2 separate regions of the Homo sapiens genome follow, and region 1 is linked to region 2. The links are contacts of gene promoters, found by promoter capture Hi-C in blood cells and fetal thymus (Javierre and others, 2016). All regions are on one chromosome and are shown on one strand. The core of a region is centred on a gene start or on the middle of the fragment in contact, and the rest is flanking DNA. Distances in the headings are between cores, read along the strand shown. Region 1 overlaps TPRKB (TP53RK binding protein). Region 2 holds the start of MRPL19 (mitochondrial ribosomal protein L19).

Region 1 (7,437 bases), core at 4,332-6,831, 1.9 Mb before region 2:
GGCCTAACATCTGCTGTGAGTAGTAAATCTACCTCCTGTCACGAAGGTAAGAGTTTATTTTCCTTTGTAACAAGGTAATTAGCAAACGCAGGTGGTCAGGTAAATTGAGGTTGAATCTCCAATAAATGGGTGTGGCCAAAGGTGCTGGGAAGTCCACTGATCTGAGGACTAGGCATTACTCTTCTTGAGAATGCGTGCAGTGAACAATGGGTTGGACCCACTGGCTAGATAAGCGTGAGATTTCTGTCTTTGCAGCATCTTAGCGGATCATTGTCTGTGATGCACATCTCACTCTGAGTTAATGCCTCTTCAATGATGAAAGTGTTTTCTTCCTCTTCTACCTCTGCAGAGAGGCTTGCTGGGATAGATTTTGTTTGTAATTCTATTTCCCCACCGCCAGAGGCCGGACTTTGGGGGTCAGGCAGCTGAGAAGGAGTTTAGAACCCATGCCTAGGCCTTCCACACTCTACAGGCACCCAGTTCATCCATCAGTAGCAGAACTTAGAGTCTTCCTGGGACTCCATACTGCCTGGAGAGAGGAATTCGTTCTCTTTCATTGCTGACATTCCTGGGTGAATGCCTGTGGCAGTTATACTTTACCCATCCCATTTTGTACCTCCTTCCACTCCAGGGGACCCCAAGGGGCCTGGCTCCACTTGCCCAGTGCACCTCCGAAGAAGGGAGACTGGGAAATGAGGATCCTGCCAGGGGGCCAGGTGTTGGACAAGGTGCATGTGAATGTGGAGGAGGAAGACGGAGCCCTCCCAAGAACCTGACAGGGTCAGGGATGAGGTGAGAGTGCTCAGAAGAGTGCTGAGGCAGGACCCAGGCTGGGGCCACGGACCTGCCTCAGCAGCTGGGGTCTGACCTCTTGGGGTTGTGTTCTGACTCCCCTTCCCCCATGGCTCTTTGCCCTCTGGAAGCCAAGGGGCAATGGCAGGTTCACAGTGGCACTGCAAGGGTACAGTTGTTGGGGGTTCTTGGGAGCAGGGGCACCAGTTCTGCTGTGGCCCTGGTTGCCTCCCCTTGCCCAGGCTCCATGTGCACCCTCAGAGTCCCCCTGGCACAACCTTTCTTCTTCTCACGAGGAACACCCCCACTTCCACTTGGGCCTCTGCCAGGAAGAAGGGTGGGAGCTCTGCCGAGGTGTCCCTCTGAGTGACCACCCTCAGCTGGAGCCGCCAGGCCTCTGCACAGTAGCTGCCCCTGGGCCTTGTGTGTAAAATGGGGGTAATAACAGTATCTACCTCATAAGGTTGCTGCAAGAACTAAATGAGTTCCTAGAAGTGAAAGACACTTAGAACCAGGATCCAGAGGCTTGCGAAGGGTGAGCTGGAGTAGCCATGGTAAGTATGGAGAGGGAGGTGAACTGAGGATATAAAATCACCAAGGCAAAAAATTTAAAAACAGAAACAATAACCAGCTGGGCTCAGTGGCTCATGCCTGTAATTCCAGCGCTTTGGGAGGCGCAGCAGAAGCATCACTTGAGTCCAGGATTTTGAGACCAATCTGGGCAACATAGTGAGACCACATCTCTACAAAAAAAAAAAAAAAAATCACTAAGGCAAGAACCTAGTACACTGTAGGCATTCCATAAGTGTTTGCAATTTTTATTCTAATTATATAAAAATAAAATATATTTGAATAGAAACAGAACTCTAGAAGGCAATAACAAGTAATAGTAACTGATTATCTTTTAAAATACAACGAGGTAGGACTACAAGTGGTTTTTTTGTTTTTTTTTTTTTTGGTTTTTTTTTTTGAGACGGAGTCTCGCTCAGCTGCCCAGGCTGGAGTGCTATGGCACGATCTCAGCTCACTGCAACCTGTGCCTCCCAGGTTCATGCGATTCTCCTGTCTCAGCCTCCCGAATAGCTGGGATTACAGGCACCTGCCATCATGCCCAGCTAATTTTTGTATTTTAGTAGAGATGGGGTTTCACCATGTTAGCCAGGCTGGTCTTGAACTCCTGACCTCAGGTGATCCACCTGCCTTGGCCTCCCAAATTGCTGGGATTTCAGGCGTGAGCCACCGTGCCTGGCCTTTTTTTTTTTTTTTTAATACCATTCTGTGATTTAAACTTTTCTATAATGCACAATTAGTTTTATAGTCAGGAAAGGAAAATCAATGTTTTCTTTAATGCTGAGAATTTTTGTTAATATTTCTGACATTTCATAAAACATCTTTTGTTGACATTCTACAAATGATAGCATCCAATAATGTCCCAATACTTTCTTCTTGTGAAGAGAGTTTATATATCTGTAAAAATGAAAGACAAATTATGACTTGCTGATATCGTCATTCACTACTAATTGTCATTATACAAACATGTGTAAGTGAAATTATTCCTCATTCAATTATTGGGTTCATGGTATAACAAACAACAAATGTGATTAAAATATTCAAAGTAGAGGGCAATTCATTACTTGTATCCCCTTTAAATTGCTGCTATGGGAGTAACTCTCAAGAACATAAAAACCAAATTTCTATCCATTTTAAAAGCATACTAAATTTATTTTACATTTTAAATATACTATGTAAGTTTGATATTTAAAGGTATTCTCTTTCTTAATGTGGAGAATGGTTATGTCAGCTGAGTTTGTAATTATATTTTACATAAACCATCACACCTCCCAGTTCTTTGTATCTGTAATTTTTAAGTAATTTTTAAAATTAGATTAACTTTCTCAAAAGTTCAAAAAACAAGGAGCTCTGGTGATCAATAGGCAAACGGCATCAGCATTATTGCTCATCTATCACACTCTTTCTAAAAATATGGACTGGCAAACCTTTTTGACTTCTGTAATATTCATTATTTCAGGAAGATTTTTCAGAGAAACCTGATGACCTTCTACTTGAGATATTAGGTATTCTTGATTTATTTGTTTTTCTCCCTCTTCAATGTAAACAATTAGAATTGAAGTGTCATTTGCTGAGATACCAAATTTTTTCAAAGCCTCTGAAATCTAAGAGAAAAAAAATGAAAAAAAAAACACAAGATCATTAACCATTGTTTCCTACGTCTGAAACATTTCCTGATCTGCCTTCTTCCTTGGTCAGGCTCTTATTTTTCATGTCCTAACAGTTCTCACTGCCTACTTTTTCACTTTAATGATTCCTTTCCAACATCCATTGGCACTTCCTCAAAAGCACTCCCTGCTTAAAGGTACGCCTTGTTCCTATGGAATCAAGCCCAGCCTCTTGGCGCTGCACAAAAACACCTCCTCCCTCTGGTGCCAAGTGGCCCTCCAGCCAGGCGCTTCTGCCTTCTGGCCAGTCCAGCCTGCCTGGGGATCCAGTCACATTTCATGCCCTTCTGCCTGTGCTCAAGCTTTGTCCTCTGCTCGCATGTCCCTTCTCCTCATGGCTTGGCTGCTGAACACATGCTTCAGGGTCCACAGTTCTGATGCCACTCCCCACCACACCCTCCTCCCTCCAAAATGAATGGCTTCATTGCTGTACCCCTAGATTTGAATTCATTTTCCCATTATATCATTTATCTTAGGGCATTTTAACTTGTCTTGTTTATCTGCCTCTCCTCAGGAACATATTTGCCTCTTCTGCCCCTAGAACTGTAAATGGAACGGGGAAAAAGTTCAACAGATGTTTACTGAATTCAAGAGTTTTCTGAATTATGTCTAATGATCTCAAGGAAACCATAATTAGTAAATTTTATTCCAGGTACTGGGAATCTCTATTACCATGCTGAGATAACTGCATTTTATAAACTTGTCAATCATCTGTATTTTAACCTATGCTACAGGTTTCCTGTAGATGACATTAGTACCTGGTTGTTATTAACAGCAGCAGTAATACTAAAACTTCATCAGCAAAATTGCAGTCATTTTTTTCATGTGCTACATGTGTGATGTCTTTAGCTTGATAACTTTCATTGAAAAAGCATTACTATAAGTATTTCAAACCACAAACTCTACCTATGTACTGGGTGTGTGAGTGAGGCTGTGTTAAGGACTGTTATAGGTACAAGCAAGTTCCTGGTATATGAAAAAGACATGGATCCCACCCTCAAGGAGTTTACGGGAAGAGAGAATGATATGCAGGCTAGCACACAAAATATCCACGCCTAATGTTTTATCATTTAGATTTCTGTCAGCTTCTCAAGCAAAAATACTTGAGGGGTCTTCCTGACCCTATATGGTAAGAACAGATAAAATTAACCTCGCTTAATTTAGCTAAATTTTTGTTTACTCATATGTAAACTGTCTTAGTAAGAGGCAGGGTTAAACCTCAACTCTCTGTCCAGAGCTCTCTTCACTATTATTTGGGTTTATTACTAACCACTGGCTTGCAGGAATTTAGCCTCCAACCCAACACTGAGGAACACATATGTTATTATGACACGGTCAACAGAAATAGGAAAGTGCACATTACATTGTTATTTGGGGAAAGGTTGAAAATAATTTCAGTAGATAGAGTTCTTGTCTTCATTTTTCCCAGTTTGTAGAGGTGAACTGCTTTGTTTGCTGCCACAAGTATCTGAAATGGATCAACAATCTACCAAAGCAAGGAAAAAGAATTAATTACACATGGAGAATCTGCAGTGCCTGAAAACACATGGTAACTCATGGTTAACTCCAGTGTCAAGCTGTTTTACTTCATCACAATTCTTACGGTCTGTATTTTCAAAACTATTATCCCGGCTGGGCACGGTGGCTCACACCTGTAATCCTAGCACTTTGGGAGGCCAAGGTGGGTAGATCACCTGACGTCAGGGTTCAAGACCAGCCTGGCCAACACGGCGAAACCCTCTCTACTAAAAATACAAAAATTAGTCAGGCGTGGTGGCACGCACCTGTAATCCCAGCAACTCAGGAGGCTGAGGCAGGACAATTGCTTGAACCCGGGAGGCAGAGGTTGCCGTGAGCCAAGATCGCGCCATTGCACTCCAGCCTGGGCAACAAGAGTGAAACTGTCTCAAAAAAAAAAAAAACAAAAAACAACTATTATCCCAAGGGCCTGGGTAGTCAGGAAATCACAGAATTTTAAAGCTGCAAGGAACTTATGCAAATAGTAAAATTTTTTTAAATAACATTAATTGAGGGCTAATATTATGGGCATGATCATATTGCAAACATTTTACTTGTAATATTTTCTTTAATCCTCAAAACTACCCTATGAAATTGACACTATTATTAGTAGTAGTAGCAGTAGTAGTAGTATGTAATTGATGAGGAAATTGAGGCAAAGAATGTCTGGGTTTGAATCCCATCTCTGTCACCTATCACCTAGGAAACTTATGCAAGTTCATTAGCATTTTATTTGTTAGAGACCGATGAAACAGTATTCACTCCATAGGCTGTTGTGAAGATTAAGCAAGTTAGTATACGTAAAGCACTTGGAACAATGCTAGGAATGCAGTAAGCACTATATAAAGGTTGGTTATGTCTTGTTCAAAGGCCTAAGTAGTAGGTCTGGGATTAATTCCCGGTAACATGATCGCACTGCGTGTGCCCTGTTTTTTTGTTTTTTTTTTTTTTTGGAGACAGACAGAGTCTCTCGCTCCATTGCCCAGGCTGGAATGCAGTGGCTCAATCTCAATTCACTGTAACCTCCGCCTCCCAGGTTCAAATGATTCTTGTGCCTCAGCCTCCCGAGTAGCTGGGACTACCAGCACACACCACCACACCCAGCTACTTTTTGTATTTTTAGTAGAGACACGGTTTCACTATGTAGGCCAGGCTGGTCTCAAACTCCGGGCCTCAAGCAATCCACCCACCTTGGCCTCTGTGTGTACTCTTAACCACTACACTATTCCTCCTCTACAGACTGTCTTGTTAGGAACCCCCATTTTAAAGATGAGAAGCTGGAGATCCAGGCATTTCCCATATTAGACCCAGACCACAACCTTTCCTATTTCCTAGGGCAGGACCTGGCACTTCTGCCTCTATTCACTGTTATAGTCAAAGTTGGCTGCATCTGACTTGGACAAGAATTTTTTCCCTAACCGTGACAGATTTTTAGGCTACCCTATAACATCACAAATATTAATGTATACTTAAATGCCCTGTATGGCTCATTCATTCTTTTTTTTTTTTTTTTTTTTTGAGGCGGATTCTTGGTCTGTTGCCCAGGCTGGAGTGCAGTGGCACAATCTCGGCTCACTGCAACCTCTGCCTCCCAGGCTCAAGCGATTCTCCTGCCTCAGTCTCCTGAGTACAGGTGCCCACCACCATGCTCAGCTAATTTTTGTATTTTTAGTAGAGACAGGGTTTCACCATATTGGCCAGGCTGGTCTCAAACTCCTGACCTCATGATCTGCCTGCCTCGGCCTCCCAAAGGGCTGGGATTACAGGCGTGAGCTACCATGCCTGGCCATTTTTTTTTTCCAGACAGAGTTTTGCTCGTCGCCCAGGCTGGAGTGCAATGGCGCAATCTTGGCTCACTGCAACCTCTGCCTCCAGGGTTCAAATGATTTTCCTGCCTCAGCCTCCCGAGTAGCTGGGATTATAGGCGCCCGCCACCACGCCCAGCTAATTTTTGTATTTTTAGTTGAGACAGGGTTTCACCATGTTGGCCAGGCTGGTCTTCAACTCCTGACCTCAGATGATCCACCCGCCTCGGCCTCCTAAAGTGCTGGCATTACAGGCGTGAGCCACCGCACCCAGCAGGCTCATTCATTCTTAAAATTTATATTTACCACTGTAGGATTTATCAGTGATCCATCGATGGTGCCTTCCATGGCCTTTCTTCTCAAGTCTCCCGCATTTTTTACATCTTTAAATAACAGAAGGGTTACCCTGCATTCGGGAAATAGGTCCAGCTGATGTGTTAACTGCATTTCACAGATAAGCAGGATTCTACTGCACACAAAATGAAAAGACCAAAAGATTTCATTTAAAAGTTAACATCAGAACTCATTTCTTAATAAATATTCAAAAACTTTGAAAGTAACTTGATAAAAGTGTTAAACTAGAAAAATCCATCGCCAAAGCCCATTTGGCATCCTCATGAGATGTTGTCTTCCTAACCCTTCTGAGTTGTTCTGTTGTCATCCCCAGGGAAACGCCAAGGGGCCCAGCTGGTTGCTGTTTGTTCAGATGAGGCAGGCTCAGGTGCATGGTTGAAGGGCTGCTTCCCCAGCAGACAAGTAGGAGCAGAATGTCAGGAATTTTTTAAACCAGAGGTTGCTTACGGTATTAATGAAGTCTTACTCTATCTTAGTCTTTTTAACTTCCTGATCTCATCATTTTATTTATATTTTAGGAAGGCCTAGACATAAATATTAAGGAAGAAAATAATTTTAAAGAATAAAGTAGGCTGGGTGCAGTGGCTCATGCCTGTAATCTCAGCACTCTGGGAGGCCGAGGCGAGCAGATCACCTGAGGTTGGGAGTTCGAGACCAGCCTGACCAACATGGAGAAACCCCGTCTCTACTAAAAATGCCAAAAAAATTAGCCAGGCATGGTGGCGCATGCC
Region 2 (7,005 bases), core at 2,063-4,562:
TTTTATCTTTCAATCATGTCTCAGTAAAGTTGGAAAAAAAGAATTTTATTATGATCTATACATTTATCTGCAAACTTTATGCATTATCACAATTTAATCCTTATACCAACCCAATGAGGTAGGCATACCTCTATCCTATTACCCATGAAGAAGAAAAGGCAGAGATGGGAACCTCTCTCAAAGACTCCAGTTAGTACATTTCAGAAATTTTTTTTACTGACTCTACCTCACAAATAGATGGAGAGACAGAAAAAAAAATACCACTTTCTATCTCTATTGCCTCTACCTCAATTGTTCCCAAATTGGAACAACTATCAGAATCACCGGAGGATTTGCTAAAGCACAGATCACTGGGTTCTGTGCCCAGAGTTTTAAATTCAGTAAGTCTGGGGGCGGGACCTGAGAATTTGTAATTTTAACACGTTCCCTGGTTGTGCTGATGTTGCTAGTCAAGGGCTCACACTTTAAGAACCATTTTTTTTTTTTCTGTTCCAGGTTAGCACCATCTCTCTTTTGGAATATTTCAATAATTTCCTGCTTCCCAGCCATTTTCTAAAGTACAATCAGAATGATCTATCTAATTTTACTTAGAAATATTTATTGGGTGCCAGATACTCTACTAAATATAGAGGATGTAATAACAAGCAAAACCGACAAGGATCCTGATGTCACAATAACCTGAAGCAGCCAGTTTGCCTGGAATACTTTCTTCCCTTGGCTGAACATTATGTAATGATGTTCATGATCTCCTTTCCAAGGGTGTAAAACACAGAAGTAAATAATTAAAGTTCTATTCCTGTGATCAGCTCATAAAATGGTTGAGCCAGCTCTGTGCTCTTTGATTTTGCTCTATGAAGTTGTTTAATAACAACTTAAGTTGGAATAATTTAAACTCCAGCTTGTTCTCCAAATTAAGATAAGGTCAAAACGGCCTGATATATGTTGGATGAGCAAGAATACGGGAGAAAATTAGATAAGATTCTTTAGGTTCATTCTTCCAATTTTGTAAAACTCTACACAACTATTCCTTCATCTGTGGAAGAGGAGAGGGCAGCAGGAGTGGCTTGGCAATGTCTAGTAAATCCTGCTGTCCTCCTGTGAAGGTCTGTCTTTTATTTCTCTGCCCCTACCTTTAGGACCAATCCCAGCAAGAGTGAAGGCCACGTGTTCTGGGCATGGTTAATACAGAAAAATCTTCACCACTGCCAGTCATGATTATCTTTGCCTCTCCTCCCTTTTACTCTTAAGGGCTTGAAGTCTACTTTTTCGGGTAGGTAGAAGAGCCAAAATATTGCTCATCTGAAATTTTGGTTGTGAGATTCCTTGTCATTTATAGAATAAATTCTTGTTCTAATCAAAGAAGCTAGAGTTAAAATAGAAGGCCCTGTCTTTCTTCACAGCATCTTGAATTCTGTGCTCAAAACATGGCCCTGTTCCTCAGGCTGATGTAACAGCTCATGTTCTTCAGGATGGCAAGTCAGAGTATAGAGGCCAAGCTGCAGAGGTTGGTTGCTTTTATGAGCATTTGACTTCTGTCAAAAGTAAACAGTAAGGCTTTAAACTGGGGAAAGGAAAGAACAGGGTATGCATTTCTGAGCCATCTTTTTTTGGTTGCTGCGTGAAGGACTGGAGGTAACCAGAGGCAAGAAGACTAATGAGAAGGCTGTTGCAGGGATCTCCAGGGATCCTGAAGAGAGAAAATATGTTGACCTAGATTGGAAATATGGATGGGAGGATGAGAAAGTATATGGATTCCTGAGATATTTGACGGTGTCAGGCATAGTTTTTGGAACTTCATCCAGGAGGAGACAGGGAGGAATCAAGAATGGCACTGAGATTTTTGGCTTAGGCAAGAGAGTGGATGCTGAAGCCATTCCTTGAGATAGCCAATACTGGGAAGGAAGTCTGGAGCTGAAAAAGATGAACTCAGTATGGATAGGCTGAATTTGAGGTAGCTTTGGGACATTAATGCAACTGGAATGACTATTATGTAGTTAAATTATCACATTACTCTAAGTGTTCAATCCTTATATAACCACTGCTGAAATAACAAATTCCAAATTTCTTTTTTTGTGTGTGTTTCTTTTTCTGTTTTTTTGAGACGGAGTTTCGCTCTTGTTGCAATGGCGCGATCTCGGCTCACTGCAACCTCTGTCTCCCAGGTTCAAGCGATTCTCCTGCCTTAGCCTCCCAAGTAGCTGGGATTACAGGAGCCTGCCACCACACCTGGATCATTTTTTTTATTTTTGGTAGAAACGGGGTTTCACTATGTTGGCCAGGCTAGTCTCAAACTCCTGACCTCAGGCGATCTGCCCGCCTCGGCCTCCCAAAATGCTGGGGTTAAAGGCGTGAGCCACTGCGCCCGGCTGTGTGTTTGTTTCTTAGAGATACGGTCTCACTATATTGCCCAGGCTGGTTTCCAACTCATGAGCTCAAGGGACCCTCCTGTCTCGGCCTCCCACAGTGCTGGGATTACAGGCATGCCTGGCCACGCCCAGTCATTTTCCAAATTTCTTAACAAGACTTACAATTTACCTTTTCCAGCTTTACTTCTCCCACCTATCCATACCCACAGTTGCCCAGCCCAAATTCATTTGGGTTCCTCAAAGGGTTAATGCTTTGTGTAGTCTCAAGGACTATGGGCCAGCAGTTCTGTCAGGAACTATTCTATTCTCTTTTCTGTGCATTCAGCAAAGAATTAGAAAAATTAGCTGGGCGTGATGGTGCGAGACTGTAGTCTTGGCTACTCGGGAGGCTGAGGTGAGAGGATCTCCTGACATCAGGAGTTGGAGGCTGCAGAGCCATGATCGCGCCACTGCACTCCAGCCTGGGTAACAGAGGAAGACCTTGTCTCAACAAAACAAAAGATGTTAGTGAGGGCCCAGGTAGGTGCTAGGTGCTGGGATAACATGGTGAGCAAAAAGAAGACTTTATCCCTTCCCTTGCCTCATTATAGTATAATGGCAGATTTAAATACTAATCTAATAATTACACAAGAAAGAATTGCAAATGAGATCAGAGCTGCCAATCGAAGGCACCCAGTGGGAAAGACGGCCTACAATGGGATTTTCGCATAGCGAAAGCTTGTCTGAGAAGATAGAGTGGATTCATAGGGGGAGGAAAAAGCTTTCTAGGCTGGGAGAACACCCCTGTGGAGGGGTGTAACTTGGCGCATTACGAGGAACTAGAGAAACGTGCACTTTTCCTAAGACATCAGGAAAGGAGCGAGGAGAGACTTATCCATTTTGTCCCATAGCAGCCGCCATATGGTGGCAGACAGCAACAACCTCGTCGCACTGATTACTGGGAGCTGTAGTCTTGACGTGAGCTAGCTGGCATGGCGGCCTGCATTGCAGCGGGGCACTGGGCTGCAATGGGCCTAGGCCGGAGTTTCCAAGCCGCCAGGACTCTGCTCCCCCCGCCGGCCTCTATCGCCTGCAGTAAGTGGAGCCGGACTTGCGAGCTGGGGCGCGTTAGGGGCCCAGGGTCAGGATGGGGGAGGCGAACCTGGAGATCAGAGGCAACCCCAGCGTTGGTCCCCCGTGGGACGCCGGGTTGGGGGAGATTGCGGGGCTCTGCGGGATCTCAGGGTTGGCACGAGAGTTCTGACCTCCGTCGTCCGCTCCCGCAGGGGTCCACGCGGGGCCTGTCCGGCAGCAGAGCACTGGGCCTTCCGAGCCCGGTGCGTTCCAACCGCCGCCGAAACCGGTCATCGTGGACAAGCACCGCCCCGTGGAACCGGAACGCAGGTGAGGCACTGCCCTGGCGCTAGGCCGGCAACTGGGGTCGGTGCGCGCGTGAGCGCGTTCGCGTTCGAGGTCCCGGCTCTAAGGTGGGGGCTGCACCTCCCCCTGCACGAGCAGGTGTGTAGGATTCAAGAGCCAGCGCACCACACTGTTCTTTCTTTCTCACTTCTCCCCAAGCCAGCATTGAACTTCTTTGCAGTTTTATTGAGTCAGAACTTCAAGTAGGGGTTCCCCATATTTTAAACTCTTTTCTCTGTGGTATTTGTCCTGTACCAGAGTTTTTCTCTGAGGTATATCCTGTTTATACCTGTTTACGTCCAAGAGCTCTTCTTTTCTCTCAAAAGACCCTTAACCCTGGATAGGAATCGATTGGCCAACTTAAAAAATTTGCTATGGTTTAGGTTGGAAGTTTTGGCAGACAAAGCACAGTAAAACTGGCCACTAAATTGTGTCTGAAACTTACTCATCAAAATAGTGTGAATAAAAACTTATATGAATGGTGGTAATCTTGGAGGTACATGTAAATTTAAAGGACTTAAGGTCTGAAAAGAGAGCTATGTAGCAACCTTTTTAAAAAGCCAGTTTTCAGAGGAAAAACCTGATATGATTATAGGCTTTTTGAAAGGGCTGTAGATTATTGATTGGATTACTTCTGGGATTTTTAATTTTTTTATTTTTTAAATTTTTTTTAGACAGAGTCTCTCTCAGTCTCCCAGGCTGGAGTGCAGTGGTGATTTTAGCTCACTGCAGCCTCAAATTTCTGGGCTCAAGTGATCCTCCCGCCTCAGGCTCCAGAGTAGCTGGAACTACTGGTACCACGCCTGGCTTTTTTTTTTCTTTTCTTTTTTTAACATTTAAAATATTCCACGGATTTAAATAGAAGTAAACTTGGAGTTAGAGAACTAAGAGATTCAGAAAATATTTCTTCATAAAACTTTGCTTTTGAGGGTAGAAATGGAATATCTCTTTTAAACAGTGGCATTTAATAGAATTCACTTAAATAGGAATGTAAATTATATGCTCTAGAGAACAATTTGACAGAATTTACTAAGTTTAAGTTGTGTATACCTTCTCACTCAGAAAGCACACAACTTAAACTCCTAACGTGTATGTACAAGGAGACAAGCACGAGAATGAATGTAACAGTATTTTTTGTAACAAAATTTAGAGGCAGCCTAGATATCCATCAGTAGGTGAACAGGCAAATACATTCATATGACAGAATATTGTATAGCAGTGAAAAATGAGTGAATTAGAGCTCACTTTTAAACATGGAAGATTTTCACAAATCTGTGTGTAAAAAAAACCTTTAGAATCATTAATGTAGTAGGATGCTATTTTTATGAAGTTTTAAAACTATAGGCCGGGTGCGGTGGCTCACGACTGTTATCCCAGCACTTTGGGAGGCCGAGGAGGGCAGATCACGAAGTCAGGAGTTCGAGACCAGCCTGGCCAACATGGCGAAACCCCCATTTCTACTAAAAGTACAAAAAAAAAAAAAAATTAGCCAGGTGTGGTGGCATGTGCCTATAATCCCAGTTACTCGAGAGGCTGAGGCAGAAGAATTGCTTGAACACAGGATGCCGAGGTTGCAGTGAGCCGAGATCGTGCCACTGCACTCCAGCCTGGGCGATAGAGCAAGACTCTGTCTCAGAAAAAAACAAAAACAAAATTATACGAAACAATATATGTTGCCCAGACATACATGCATATGAAAAGTAAAAAGAAATGTAAGGGGGGCCTTCTGAAACTTTGCCAAACAGTCAAACCTAACTTTACCAGTATTGGTACCAGTTGATATTATGTGTCTCCTGATGTGACAGAATAAGTTGTTCACATCATCTCCCTGTAATATTCTTACTAAAATTATTTAACCTTAGTCTAGGCATGTGGAAACAATCCAGAATCCAGAGATGAGATAGTAGGCCTTGACTGTTCAAAAAAGTTAATGTTATAAAAATACAAAGTTGGAAAAAAGTCCTAGTCTGAGAGACTAATGACCAAATATGTGTGAAGCTTGATTGTATTTTGAATTGGGCAACGAATAGATGTAAAATACCTTCCCAGGATAATGACATACATTTGAGTATGAACTCTGTATTAGACCAAGCTTGTCCAACCCACAGCCCAGGACAGCTTTAAATGTGGCCCAACACAAATCTGTAAACTTTCTTAAAACATATGAGATTTTTTTTGTGCCTTTTTTTTTTAAGCTTACCAGCTATTGTTGGTGTCTTTTATGTGTGGCTCAAGATAATTCCTCCAGTGTGTCCCAGGGAAGCCAGATGATTGGATACCTTTGTATTAGATTATGTTATCAAATTAATGCTGACTTTTATAGGTGTCAGAAGGGTATCGTGATAATATAGGAGCAAGTCCTTATTCTTAGCATAAGCCTTCTAAATTATTGAGGGATGAAATGCCTTGCTGTTCCATTTTTTTGAGACAGAGCCTTGCTTTGTCATCCAGGCTGGAGTGCAGTGGCATGATCTTGGCTCTGCAACTCCTACTCCTGGGCCCCTCCCTACTCAGTCTCCCAAGTGGCTGGGACTACAGGTGCCCGCCACCATGCCTGGCTATTTTAAAAATTTTTTTGTTGTAGAATGAGGTCTCACTATGTTGCCTAGGCTGGTCTGGAACTCCTGGGCTCAAACGATCTACCCTCCTCGGCCTCCCAAGTGTTGGGATAACAGACGTAAGCTACCACACCTGGCTGACATTTTCAAATGGTTCAGAAAAAAATGATATGTGTATATAAAGCAAATATAGCAAAATTTTAGCAGTTGGTAAAAGTGGATGAAAGATCTACAGGTGTTCATTGTATTACTATTTTTTGGTAGGCTTTAAAATTTTCAAAGTAGAAAATTGAGGAAGAGAAAGAAATTCATGGGAATAATCACCAAATTTAGGATAGTAATGAACTATCCTAAATACACAGGGGCTTCCACAATATTGATAATTTATTTCTTGAGGTGGGTGGTAAAGACATGAATATTCATTGTACTGTCATTTATACTTTTTATGTAGATTAAATATTTCATAATGAGCTTAAAATCAGTTAAAGAAGAAAAAAAGAAGATTATTATTTTTTAAGCAAAAGGATTTCACCTTTGTAAGACTTACACAATTTTCACATAGCTTCATTTCTACAATCACAACAATCCTGAGGTAAACAGGCAGGGTCTAATCATTCTCTTTTTACAGAGGGAGAACCAGCAACTTAGGGAAATCAAAACGGGGACACTAACAGGATTTCTGT

Evidence for each region. Contacts are between HindIII fragments. The CHiCAGO score rates a contact against its expected background, and 5 or more counts as called.
Region 1: a contact is called between a fragment that was not itself captured here and the fragment with the promoter of MRPL19 in region 2, in 1 of 17 cell types (activated CD4 T cells). The highest score is 5.2, in activated CD4 T cells.

What each region holds. Positions count from the first base shown.
Region 1 is chr2:73,727,771-73,735,207 of GRCh38, forward strand. TPRKB (TP53RK binding protein) reads right to left here. Exons shown (of 5, transcript NM_016058.5): 2 at 6,659-6,821; 3 at 4,393-4,515; 4 at 2,790-2,966; 5 at 2,103-2,259. The coding sequence starts at 6,799. The coding sequence ends at 2,173. Among named protein-coding and RNA genes, the nearest start is that of TPRKB, 5.9 kb to the right of the region's middle. The HindIII fragment of the contact is 4,504 bases long and covers 3,330-7,437 here.
Region 2 is chr2:75,643,471-75,650,475 of GRCh38, forward strand. MRPL19 (mitochondrial ribosomal protein L19) reads left to right here and starts at 3,313. Exons shown (of 6, transcript NM_014763.4): 1 at 3,313-3,440; 2 at 3,632-3,749. The coding sequence starts at 3,338. It also overlaps the pseudogene SUPT4H1P1. RefSeq lists enhancers at 3,113-3,407, 3,243-3,542. The HindIII fragment of the contact is 2,636 bases long and covers 3,125-5,760 here.